3 separate regions of the Homo sapiens genome follow, and regions 1 and 2 are each linked to region 3. Evidence: promoter capture Hi-C in human tissues and cell types (Jung and others, 2019). All regions are on one chromosome and are shown on one strand. The core of a region is centred on a gene start or on the middle of the fragment in contact, and the rest is flanking DNA. Distances in the headings are between cores, read along the strand shown.

What was found. Contacts are between HindIII fragments. The study calls those that stand out against the background at their distance.
Region 1: a fragment that was not itself captured here is called in contact with the fragment with the promoter of CLDN8 in region 3 in 2 of the 25 tissues and cell types used here (dorsolateral prefrontal cortex and stomach).
Region 2: a fragment that was not itself captured here is called in contact with the fragment with the promoter of CLDN8 in region 3 in 4 of the 25 tissues and cell types used here (aorta, mesendoderm cells, ovary and 1 more).

What each region holds. Positions count from the first base shown.
Region 1 is chr21:30,269,291-30,273,691 of GRCh38, forward strand. No RefSeq gene overlaps it. Among named protein-coding and RNA genes, the nearest start is that of KRTAP24-1, 11 kb to the right of the region's middle. The HindIII fragment of the contact is 6,683 bases long and covers 1-4,401 here.
Region 2 is chr21:30,180,815-30,185,455 of GRCh38, forward strand. No RefSeq gene overlaps it. Among named protein-coding and RNA genes, the nearest start is that of CLDN17, 16 kb to the left of the region's middle. The HindIII fragment of the contact is 5,375 bases long and covers 1-4,641 here.
Region 3 is chr21:30,214,752-30,219,300 of GRCh38, forward strand. CLDN8 (claudin 8) reads right to left here and starts at 1,346. Exons shown (of 1, transcript NM_199328.3): 1 at 1-1,346. The coding sequence starts at 1,174. The coding sequence ends at 497. The HindIII fragment of the contact is 13,225 bases long and covers 1-2,743 here.

The sequences.
Region 1 (4,401 bases), core at 588-3,087, 55 kb after region 3:
AACCACTCTGGATCCACAGCTAACATTCAATATCCAAGTCAGTTCTAGAACATGTCAGCATCATCCACTCATCAAATCAGTAGTCATGTGAACAGATGGTGCTCAGTAGCACTTCTAGAAGTAAAATGTTAAAGAAGAAAGTTCTCAAACAAAAACCCTTGACCATCATACTTATTGCACAGTATCTTTGCAATTAGGGCAAGGGTCAAAAGCCGGCAATATGAACTGGTTTCTGAGAAATAAGCTTAAATTATTTATGCATTCTTTAAAATTGTTTCTAAGTTACATTATTTTACAACTAAAGTTGCCTCCAGACAAGAATAACGAGAGAGAATGAGACAAAGAAAAAGGATGTTTGGGGGTACGGGGCAAAGGAAACAGAACTGCTTGTTCTTGCCTTATGTTGAAATTCCATTCTTCAGACTGATTTAGCAACTATAATAAAACTCACTCAGCAGTTTGAAAAACTAAATAAAAATTATCCTCATTGCTTTTTCTGAGCCTGTAAAAGATTGTAGTTTTTAATGATAATCCATTTGTGGAGTCTTCCATTGCCCACTATCTCTCCCTGTGATCAGGTTATATTCTGGTGCCCGGCTAAAATCAACTTTTGATCTTCAGCATTCCTTGAGTTTCTAATTATGATGATCTCACCTATCAGTGTGCCTCTCCTTTCTTTGTTTGCATTTTCCTTTTATTTTATGGCTGTAGAAATAAACACATGTTATCTCTGGATCTTCATATCAGGAGGGGATATATGACTTGATAAGCTTTCTCATCAGCTGTTGAAAATAGTCAGATTCCAGCCCAACCAAACTGGAGTTAATATGTTGCTTGCAAAAATATGTCAGACTTTTTATTGTGTTACTCTTTTAAAAGGTTAATAATTGTAGAGTTTAAATGGTCAAGGTTAAGGTGAACCTTATTATTACCTGATTATGATATTTAATGTCTTTAGTTGTGAAATCAGTTCCATCAGACATGGGGCCTGGTGTCTACTGAAAGCTTTAATGATCTGGCCCGGGGTCCAGGCAGATTTTACTAGTACACTTAGGTACATGTGTTTTACAAGAAGGGTGGAGTCTCTCAGTTAAAATGACTGCAGTTTGCAGCTTCTCTTCCGAAAATTAACTCATGGAGGAAATTCTGGTCTCCTATGGCACTTCCTCTGTTTTTCTTCTTTTGAAACATAAATTAGCATTAGCCCAAACACAGGGTCTTGAGGAAATATGTAAGTTAGGTATAAAGCTTCCATTGGTAGCTCTTGGCAATTCAGTAATTAAGGTGTAACAAAACTAAATGCATCTCTACTGATTTAATGGCTTATTTGTGACATGTAATAAAAATATGCCTGTATCTTTAAAAGTCATTGCCTGGGCTTGGATGGATTCGATAAACACTTTGGGAAGGGAACATGCGGAAGGAAGGCATAGTTAAACACCATAAAAAATTTTAACAGAGGTTGGGGCCAGGAGTGTTGGCTCATGTCTGTAATCCCAACACTTTGGGAGACTGAGGCAGGTGGATCACCTGAGGTCAGGAGTTCGAGACCAGCCTGACCAACATGGAGAAACCCCATCTCTATTAAAAATACAAAATTAGCTGGGCATGGTGGCGCATGCCTGTAATCCCAGCTACTCGGGAGGCTGAGGCAGGAGAATCGCTTGAACCCAGGAAGCTGAGGTTGCGGTGACCCGAGATCGCACCGTTGCACTCCAGCCTAGGCAACAAGAGTGAAACTCTATCTAGAAACAAAACAAAAACAACAACAACAACAAAAAAAAAGCACAGTTTATATCTAGAATGATAGAATCATCATATTTTAGAGGTGTAAGTGTTCATTAAATTCAACCTCTTCTTTTTTTCTGGTAGGGAATCTGAGGCCCAGAGACAAAATGTGACAATACCAGCACTAGAGAATAACCTCCTATTCCCAAGCCCAGTCTCCTTTTACGACTCTGTGCCCTGTCTCTTGTCTCCAGTCATCTGCCTGACTTGGCTGCAGTGACAGGCATCATCTCTACTTCCCACAAATATGTATGTGGTCCCACAGGCCACCAGGCAACTATCCAAATGGCCTTTAGATTTTATGTAGAAAAGTTGAAGGACTGTTCACTTGCAAGAATTCATTGGTTTTATATTTTAAAGACTTAAATGATCCGGGAAATTGCTTTCTCGGTCCCATGTTCTGTCTCAGGATAGCAAAATATATAGGGCATCCCTGCGATTGGACACAGACTTCTAAAATCAACACGATGTTTCTAACAGCCTTGTTCACTGATACCCTCAACCCTATTTGGTAGTGATCATGAAAACCCTCTGCCTTTAACAGTTTATTTTAGAATATGTTGCATAGCTATTTCTGAAGCTGTTTACATGGAGATAATGATAAATATGCACCAAGTTTCATGTATGGAATAAAGTTTCATAACTTGGTAAACAGATGTTGACGGCATGGAATGATGTTTTGCAATCACTGAAAACAGCAGAACTTCTGGGCTTGGGACTCTGGGGTTGAGGTCCCCTTATGCTTTTGATTACCACAGAATGTGAGCCTACACTGGAATCAGAAGAATAAAATTGTGCCCTAAATTTAGATTAGAGAAGGATTTGGGGCTGGTTTTGTGTCTGGTTAAACCATCATCACCTAAAATTATTGTTTCAGTGTGTGCTTCCTGGAAATATGTATCCCAGAATATTTTTTGAATTTTTATTTTTAGAGACAGTCTTGTTCTGTTGCCCGGGCTGGAGTGCAGAGGGGTGCAATTATAGCTCACTGCAGCCTCAAACTCCTGGGCTCAAGTGATCCTCTCATCTCAGCTTTCCAAACAGCTGGGACTATAGACATAATCATGCCCAGCTAATTTTTATATTCTTTTCTTTTTTATTTTTAGAGGTGAAGTGAAGTCTTACTACTTTGCCCAGGCTGGTCTTCAGCTCCTGGCCTGAAGCCATCCTCCCATCTCAGCCTCCCTATTAGCTGAGATTACAGGCTCAAGCCAACATGACCAGCTCTTCCAGGAATTGTGTATAATAATTTTTCTGCCACGGTATGGCTGTGGTTGAGAAAACCTTCACTGTGCCTTCACATTCAGGTTGGTTAGGTACTTTTTAGACTAATGAGTTCATGCATTCTCTGGAATGAGTAGAGAAATGTTCCTTGAAAACCACCACAACTATCTTGATCAGATAGAGCTGTCATACCTGGTCCCTGGAATACTTGTGCTTTTATATTATGTTTCTATTAATATTTTATAACACTACTATGGTTTTTTTTTATCTAAAAGCAGAGAGAACTGTAGATGTTCTATGCCTCTGGCTGGATTGCACTGTTACACTTAAAATCTCTATTACCTATCTTTCAAGAGAGGCAAGGAAAAAAAAGGAAAAAAAAATACGCTGGCTAAGTTCTCTCTTCTTTATCAACAGTTTTCTAAGTTATGGAGATAACATTCTTTATTATGATAATTATGCCCATGTCTTAAACCAATAATTAAAATAGAAAAAAAGCAGTAAATATGTATTTTCAAAAATAGTAGAACTATGACTTCTGGATATATACATAACAAGTTTAAGAATCATGATGAAAAGACATATATGTGTATTCATACACATCTATAAGCTCACATACCTATTCACAATTATTCATAAAGTTAGCATAGTTATTGCCTTTATCTGATTCCAAGATAATCTTCAAAGAACCCATTAGCTTTAGTAGAAATTCAAACATTAGTCATCATCCACATTAAGAGTTTGTAAGAGATGGAATTCAGAGAGTCAGATGTGACTTACCGTGGTGGGGAGGCCTGGGGCAGGATGAGATTAATTCATCTCCAGTTTGAGGGTCTTTCTAGTTTATTGGGATGCCAAGGTTATGTGTTTTCAAGTCAATGATTCTCATATGAGGCCAGGAAGGGGAGTTGCTGGAAAATGTTTAAACAATCCTCTTCCCTGCCCTTTCCTTTCCTTTTACATGCTTTCCCTTACCTTCCTTTTCCCATTCCTCTTTATCTCCACCCCATTTCCTTCTCTCTTCTTGTTGATGGCGGTGGCCCATGCTACGTGTTCCAAGCCGGAAATTAAGAGCACTCTTGACTAAAGTTATACCTTTTTCTTTGAAAATTTACTTGTTTATTCCTATTCTAGACTATTTCCCTCGAATTCAGGCAAGATCAGGAGTACAAGTTCTAAATTTTATAAGGTTCTTCCCCCAAATTTTAGTTCTGTTTGGAACCAGTTCTTAAATATTTTAATTTGTAGATATTGCCTCCATGTGAGACATTCTCATGTGCCTTCTTGCTCTATGTGTTGTGGAATGAAAATGTATGTAATTCAGTACTTCAGGAAAATGTTCTTTCCCAGAGGGAAATGCTACCTATGGCCAGGCACAGTGGCTCACAC
Region 2 (4,641 bases), core at 1,241-3,740, 33 kb before region 3:
AGGGAAAATCTGAAAATATTTGGAGACACTTTTGGTTGTCACACTGGGAAGGTTCTACTGGTATCGAGTGAGCAGAGCCTATAGATGCTGCTGAACATCGTACATCACACAGCATAGGCCCCTGAGCAAAGAATCATGGCTAACACTCAACTAAGCACTTGGATATGCTACACACACACGGACTATTTTACTCATGTTATCCTTGCATTACTTGTCATCAAGTCTCAAAATAACCTTCTGGGGTTAGCATTATCTTCATCCTTATCTTTTCAAAAAAGATGCTGAGCATGGGAAACTAGATTGTAGAGTCATCCAGTTAATAGGTCAAGCCAAGATTCAGCCTTGGGCAGTGTGGCCTCAGAACCACATTTATAATAGTATGTACTACTTGAAGTGTTTTTCACTTAGTTACATTCAAGTTAGGGTCTCCTTCAGTCCTAATAATCTACGAATTATCTTAGAAGAACAAATTGAAAATCAGTAACAATTGGCATTTACTTATTAGTTTAATTGCATAAGGATAGAAAATTGTCCATCTCCTGGGTCACTTTCTTTCCTAGTTAATTTGAAAGTTAATGTTTCACTGTGAAAGATGAGAATATAAAACCAAAGCTCTCTATCACCTGAGTTCAGTACTTTCTCCTGAACTTTTTATGGGGAATCATAAAAGCTGATCATGGGGATATTTGAAGCTTTATGTAATACTTCCCAAGTATGAAATAAAGTAATGAATATTTTGTATTGTTTAGTGGTTGAAAAAAAAAAAGAGAGACAGACACACCTCCCTCTAATAAAGAAAATTCAGAAAAGGGCATGATTTATTAAGACTCTTTATTATGGCTGATGTCATGGGACAGAACAATATTAATAAGAGAACAGATAATTGTACCATGGCCTGAGAAACAAAGACTTAATACAGATTATCTAACCTTACATCATTCTCAAGAGAAAGGGAAGGAGCAGGTGTAACATCTGCACTTGGCTGTGGGGAAAAAGTGAGAATACAGAGTAGCTCACTGACTTGGCCAAAAACATTCTGTAAATCAGTAACTAGAAAAATGTCTGTATTTTTGTTTTTGAGCATTCTTCTTTGAATTAATAATAATTCTTCAGGAACAAACTGATAGTATTCTTGGCAATTCTAGCACTTACATTTTCAAGTGTTTTTTACAAGAATATTGTGCTTTTCCAATGGCTCAAACTAAATATACTTAACTGACAAATAAATATTTATGAAGTATCAACAGTTTATCTAGCTCTCTGCAAATACCCTGTGTTGAAGAAGTTTGCCCATCTACCTAAAGAAGCAGGATGCGTAGTATTTAAGGGATCAACTAATTGATAATAAGAAAAATAGGTAATATATACTAAGATACCTTTTCCACCTTGCAATTGGCATGAATTTTCTCTTTACAACAATCCAATGATATAGGTACCAATTTTATTCACTCTTTGTACATGGGAAAATTGAAACAGAGAGAGATTAGGTGAACTGCCAACTAACACAGAAGCTGTCTGAGAGAGAAACCCAGACAAGGACACAATAGAGTACATATTTTCAATGGCTTTGCCATATGCACAGACCTTAACATCTGTCAATTAGTGGAGAAATGAGAGAATAATGTCCACAGAAATCATTGGAAAATACTAATGAAGGTTCAAGGTTCAAACCGGCCATTTAAAAATAATTAGTATATGCCTTAATCATTGGTCCTGGACTTGGGATATGCCATCTTAGGAACATTTTGAAATTGTGTGTGTGTGTGCATGTGTGTGTTTGTGTATGTGTGTGTTTAGAAGAGTGGAATTTGGTTGCCACAATGATTGGATGACTTCCTGGGCATTCAATAGATGGAGGCCTAATAGTCCTCCTTTATAAACAAGACATAAAATCATCAGTCCTGCACAAAGATGCCTTATCGTGTAACTTGTGTAACTTTCCAATGATCTTTTGGATAATAACTGAAAAACTTGTTTATGATCATGAACATAGAACTCTACTCCTCTTAGATTAAAACCCGAAGTAAATATTTTAATGCACAGTGAAGTTGCAGGAATGCAGAAACTAGTAAATCACAGGAAGGCTGACTTTTGATTTGTTTTGAACTTATACTAAGAGTTGTTCAACATTTAAAAAAATCATATCACCCATGGCAATAGTAGCCATGGAATTTGAGTCACAAATCTAATATCTGTATCAATCGGTCTTTCTAGCTCTCATATTTTGAGTGAATTCACATAAAAAACAAGCATCTGATAATTTTTATATCTTTCAGTGAAGATGTTCTTAGTCAATCACATAATAAAATATCTTTTAAATAAATTATTTTCCTTTAAAGTTTCCCTTATAAGTAGGGCATGCTGTTGGTATTTCCAAATGATTATTTTGTTTCATCTGTGACTTTCATTCCAGAATAAGCAACAGGACATTATACAATACTTGATATAAAAGGGTATGATAGAGCTGTGATGCCCTAGTTTAGATGAATGTATGCAGAAAGGGCATGGGGCATAGAGCTGTTTTATTTATTCTTTTTTCATTATTTCAACATATTTTTTGAGCACCTACTATGTGTCAGCCTACACTACTGTGCAGTGGTCCTAGAACAGTGAATAAGAGTAAATTCCTTATTCTCATAGCCTTTACTTTGTAGTAAAGAAACTAGCACTACTTAGAAATAAGACAAAATAAGGCCCACATATCCTTTCAATGTCATACTGGAACATTGCCTAATAAACTCAACCAAAGATTATTTAATTATTTAGGAGACTGTACTTTGTTTTATTCAGTATGTACTATTGGTTAGGGCTCAAATGTTGTAAAGTTGCATGCTAACTTATAGATTTTCTACTGTCTTTGTGAAAAGTAGAAAGATAAGTTCTGGTTTTATTGTTCTTTGGACACTAAAGAGACTTAATTTAGCAAGCTTATTTCAGTATGGCTTTCTTCTAATATTCTGCAATCAGCATTCCTAAACATAAAATGTATAAAACATGTTCATTGTATATATTGGCATAAGAGTCATATTTGAAACTTATTGAATATTTTAATTTCACACATTCTAGTAAGAGTCACAGTAAAGGGATGAGGTTGGAATAAACATTGAGAGCCTTAAGAGCTAGGCAAAAGAGATTAGCTTTTAAGATAGAAAATCGAGATCAATTATGTTTCTTAACCCGGTTATCTACTTGACAAGAAAGATACTAAGATGACACACAAAACCTGGGAAATATTTATTATATTTTTGTTAAATTTAAGTCAATGGCTATTTGATTTTAGTTAGAGAATCTTCTTGTGCTATTAAGCATAAAATATCAATTCAGCACTTCAAATGATATTCACAACTTTCTCTTGATATGGCAGGCTAATATCCTAAAATTCCCTCATATAAAGATTTAACATTCCCTCCTAAAAGTTTTTAAATTCCTTCATGTAAAAATTAAAAATTCTTGTGCTGGGTGCAGTGGCTCACGCCTGTAATCCTGGCATTTTGGGAGGCTGAGGTGTGTGGATCACCTGAGGTCAGGAGTTCAGGACCAGCCTGGCCAACATGGTGAAACCCCATCTCTACTAAAAACTACAAAAAATAGCTGGGTGTGGTGGCAAGCGCCTGTAATTCCAGCTACTTGGGAGGCTGAGGCAGGAGAATTGCTTGAACCTGGGAGGCAGAGGTTGCAGTGAGCCAAGATCACATGGCTATACTCCAGCTTGGGTGATAAGAGTGAAACTGTCTCAAAAAAAAAAAAATTGAAAATTCTTGGAGGAAAAAATATACTATCTAATGCCTAGGAAGTTTTTGAGAAAATAAGGTAACTTTTTCTAGAATAAGAATGAAGAAGAAATATAATTTTGGGGAGACCAGCCAAAGAAGCATCTATGAATGCCCTCAGAGAACCTTCCATTCCCTGGTGGGCTACAGTTGCAGTTAGAGTATTTGGTGCTCAGGGATTGGGACGTAAGCCTGGATTCAGATTAAAGATCTCAGAATAAAGTTAAGATTCTCAAGGAAGAACATCTTAAGGAGAAATATTAAACTAGAATAATTTGTCTGACCATTAAGTCAGACAAAAAAGAAAATTTATCTCAGCCTAATATTAGGTAGCCTGAGACATTCTATCCCTATAGAGATTTGGGCCTAGATTAATCCTATTTGCGTGGTTCACAAAATGCAGGCTGGGAATTTTAATCTAAAATGAATTTAGGTTAATAGTGCCCAAAGGTAAGTAACAAAAACAAACGAAACATTTCTCTGAGGGAATCAATGAATTCTCACAGATAGATCACCACTAGACAGGATTCACAATCACAAATCCCAAAATATACAAGGAAATATCAAGATATGTGTGAACTACACAAGCAAAAAAACAGCAGAATAAGACCTCTAAAAACTTGATATTAAAATCGTTGGGTACAGTAAGTAAAGTAAAATCTGTACAATGAAATGAAATATAGACTCAAGTAGCAAGAGTTTATCAAATAAGCAGGAGTATTTGAAACAAAACAAAGCAGGTAGAAATTTAAGAAATATTAAAATAAAAAACTGAAAAATTGTTTTTACAAGAGATAAAAAATAATTCGTTATTTGGAAGATACATTTAAAGAATTATTTACACATAACAATGGAAAATAAAGTTGAATGG
Region 3 (4,549 bases), core at 96-2,595:
TGTTTTTAAACAATTAATAGTAACCTTCTTCAACCCTATCCATGATTTCCCTGAAAAGCAATAGTTGAGTTCTATTTATTCAGTGTAATGGACTGGCATTTCATTTTAAATAAAACCATATAAGCATGTCTCTATGTGAGATATAAATGTTACACTCATCTATGTACATAATGCTATGTCGTGGAGAAATTACAGTAGTAAAATAATGCAGTCTTTAGCAATGTCATTTTGAAGTAAATGATAAAAAGAGTAGATGCTTGAACCACCTTAGAAAACAAATTACTATACTTTCTAGAACAATCAAAGCATTGGGTTTAATATCTCATTCTGCTGAAATAGCTTATAGAATCATAAATAGCTGATGCACAGTTCCTGTAATTAAGATTAGGCAGTTAAGAACAGTAAATCAAAGTTTCTTTGGGGTCCATTTTGAGAAAGTAATATAGATTTTTGTCATTTGCATGGCTTTATAGTAAAGTTAAAAAAACATACACAACTACACATACTGACTTCTGGAGTAGACGCTCGGTGACTTCTTTCCGGTGTGATAACTTTTTTGGGTTGTGCGATGGGAAGGTATCGAGTATCTGTAGCTACTGCTCTTTTCGTTGCAACAAAAAACGCAGCAGAACAGAGCTCCTCCAACAATCAGCACCAGTGCCGTGGTCCATCCTAAGTAGAGAGCTTCTCCAAGCTCACGTTTTTGGGCAACATTCACTATTGAGTTATAGAAATCTCTGATGATGGCATTGGCAACCCAGCTCACAGGGATGAGCACCACCATGCCCGTGATGATGAAGATGATTCCAGCCGTCAGCAGAATGTGAGCCTTCACCTTCTCATTGTCCCCCGTGCACCTGGTGCATTTCATGCCAAGGATGGCCATCATGAAAGCCAAGAAGGACATCACGGAAGCAGCACACATCAGTCCTCTGGCTGCCTGTAGGTCCGGAGAAAGAGCCAGCAGGGAATCATAGATTTTGCACTGCATCCTGATGTTAGCCTGCCTCACGCAATTCATCCACAGTCCTTCCCAGAAGTTTTCAAAAACCACGATGTTGTTTTCAATGAAGGCCGACACTCTCCACTGAGGCATGACAGTGACAGCCACTGTGCCCACCATTCCAACACCACCAAGAAACAGCCCAGCGATTTCTAAGGCATGGGTTGCCATTATCCTCTGGGATGAGTTTTAGCCAGCTGGACTCCGGAACTGCTACTTCTGCTTTGAAGCAGGGTTCTCTGTGCCACAGAAGAGAACAGTTTTTCCTGTAGTAATGAACTCGGAACCCAGTGGTTTTTCAAATAAGAGCTGCTTTGCTACTTCTGGCCAGATAGTATCCAGTGCTGGCTGGCTGAGATGGCCCTGCTATTGGCTGCAACAGGTAAACTTACAAATCAGGTGTGGCAACTTTCTCAGCCAATAAAAGGTGGATGGTAATCCAGGTGTGTCTAAACCAACACTTGGGTACTTGGAACAGCTAGACCTGCACATAAACATTCTTTATACTTCTCGGTCTTCCAAGAAGACAGCAGTATGTTTACCTGTAGGCATAGTTATAAGTGGTTGCATAAGCATCAAGAAATGAGCCGATCCCTTGTAATGTGAAAGGTGCACCTTGTACAGGCAATTCTGAAACTCTTAATAAGAGCTGCTGGGACCAAGGGATAAAATAAATTATCTGCCGAAGAATTCTGCAACGCTGTTGAAATGCCAAAGTGAAACGAGAGTAGGGGATTGAAAGATTGCTTTTACCTGGGAAGCCACATTCTTTGGGACACATGTGATCCAAGTGATTGATTTAATTTTTCTACAACTTCAAAGCAAGCTCTACTGTGGTGAAATCAGGGAACAGATCATGCCAGAGGACAAAATAAGCTAAAGTAATTAAATACACAAGGCTGTCCTTCTCCTTGGCACTGAAAACATATTGGAGTTCTTTAAGCCAGAAAAAATACTCATTGACACTTTTCTGATAATCTTCACTTATAAAAACATTTTTTGCCAAAATAAAAATCACCAGATGATTATCTTATGTATCCAGCACTATAGCATTAAAATAAGCTTATGAGCTTATTTTGTGGTGTTATTCTTGCTGCTTTGAATTCCTGGGCTGAAGGAACTAGAATTCTGAAGATGACACAAGACCCTTGGGCCTATACAAATGGCTGATATTTCAAAATAAGATATTTACAAGACAAGGGAACTATATTTACCAAACTGTATTATATTAGGTATTAACCAAATATGTTTTCCTACCTTTTAATATTATGTCTGCAGTAGGACATAGAAACCCCTAAACGCAAGACAATTTGAACTTTCTTCTCAAAATAATGATGCTCTAACAGTAGTGCTATACTAAGCATAAATGTTTATCTGAGAAAATTCGACTAGCAATTTTCTTCTGGAGATCACCTTAAGCTCTCTGTCTGATCTTTCCAAAGTTTAAGCTGCCACTTCATTTTCTTTTCTTCTTAACATCATAAAAAATGATTTTCTCTTTACAGTTTTACTTTCTCTCTGTTTCATTGGACTACCTTAAATCCAAATATGGGAGAAAATCGTTTCTGCTCACTGATTAAACTTTGAGAGTTTCATGGTTCAAAAAATCTGAGTCATTTGTGGATATTATTAAAACAAAAACTATATGGTAGAAAGGGCAAAAGGAGGATCAAGTAGACTGTCTTCTAAAAAAGAGGCAGGACAGACGCACAGTAGTATGAGTTGTTATAATTTTGTTAAACAGACGTTATAAACCTTATAAAAAGTTAAAACTTAATATTTACAGAAATATTCTCATTTGTTGACCTGTGAGGTGCCAAACTTCAGGGTGTCCCTTAGGCTGATGCAGAAAATATGCAGCATTTGGCCGGGGCGGTGGCTCACGCCTGTAATCCCAGCACTTTGGGAGGCCGAGACGGGCAGATCAAGAGGTCAAGAGATCGAGACCATCCTGGCTAACACGGTGAAACCCCGTCTCTACTAAAAATACAAAAAATTAGCCTGGCATGGTGGCGGGCGCCTGCAGTCCCAGCTACTCGGGAGGCTGAGGCAGGAGAATGGCATGAACCCAGGAGGCAGATCTTGCAGTGAGCCGAGATCGCGCCACTGCACTCCAGCCTGGGTGACAGAGCAAGACTCTGTCTCAAAAAAAAAAAAAAAAAAGAAAAGAAAATATATGACATTTTCTTCATCAAGTTTCTATCAGTTACAGATTTGTGGTGGAGGGAGACTTAGATTAATCTTGGGAAAATAAGATTTTAAAAGTTGAGATTTTAAACTTTCAAAGTTTAAGAAGTGAGCAGAAAACATTTTCTCCCATATTTGGATTTAAGGTAGCCCGATGAAGCAGAGAGAAAGTAAAATTTCAAAGAAAGGATCATTTTTATGATGTGAAGAAGAAAAGAAAATGAAGTAAAGCTTAAAGATTTTCCTTTTGTGCAATCCACAAAAGGAAAAATGACATATAAACAGAAGATATTTTTCATCTTTAATTGTCAAACTGGGAAAAAGGAGTGATTGACAGAACTGAAAAATGAAAAAGAAATAATATAACTGGTTGAGATAATGACTACGTGAAGCTACATTTTAAGGGATGTCAAGGCATATATTGCTTCATTGAAATTTCTTTTCGAATTCCCGTGTGGCATGTTTCTTAGGAGCTCTGTTTAAATATTGCTGACTATCCACATCAACACAGGAACGCATGAGACAGAAGCAGAAAGCTCTGCCTCTGAGTGCCTCAGCCGTTGTGGGAGCTGCTTCCCAGGTACGCATTCATATTTCTTGGCTTTGTGTATTACCAAACCTCTCTTCCCTTGAGGCTTGAATTTTACCAGGAACTTATTTTACATAAAAATATTTTCCTTATTTCAAAAATATTAGGTACTTTACTATTGAAATTGTTCTAGCCAAAAGATGAGGATCTGAGTGGGAAATTAACACTAGGTTCACATTAGAATTATTGTACAGTTAATTCCCTACTAGGAAGTGGCCCAGGGTTTCCAAATAGGTTCCTTATCAGACAATGATACAGTTAACTCCATAGTATTTATAAATAACCATGTCCTAAAAGACACTGGAATAAAAAGACAGAAAAAAATGGTAATATTGAGTTTGCTAAAGACAAAAGGGGCCTAAATTCAAAGATAAAAGGAAACTGTTATCTACTTTTCTGTCCTGCTGAATTGATTAACTTGGCTACAAAATTCAGATAGCAGTAATAGAGATATAACAGATTGATAACATTTTTACTCTAATTTAGAACTACAGAGCAAAATACATCGATTATTCAATAGTTTGTACTTCCATTTCCATGAAGAACCACAGTACTACCAAGAACCCAGGAGAGAAATGAGAGCTCATGTCAACCCCCTCTCCACCCTCCCTCGGGCTTTTCTGTCTGTCAACATCATCATAAGGCATGATTTAAGTTTAGCAATTAAATTTGCTAAACTGCATTCAGCCCTGATAATAGCATAACACAGGCAAATGCTTTTTCTTCCTAAATGATAACATACAAATCACTATCAGATTGTCTTATGCCCA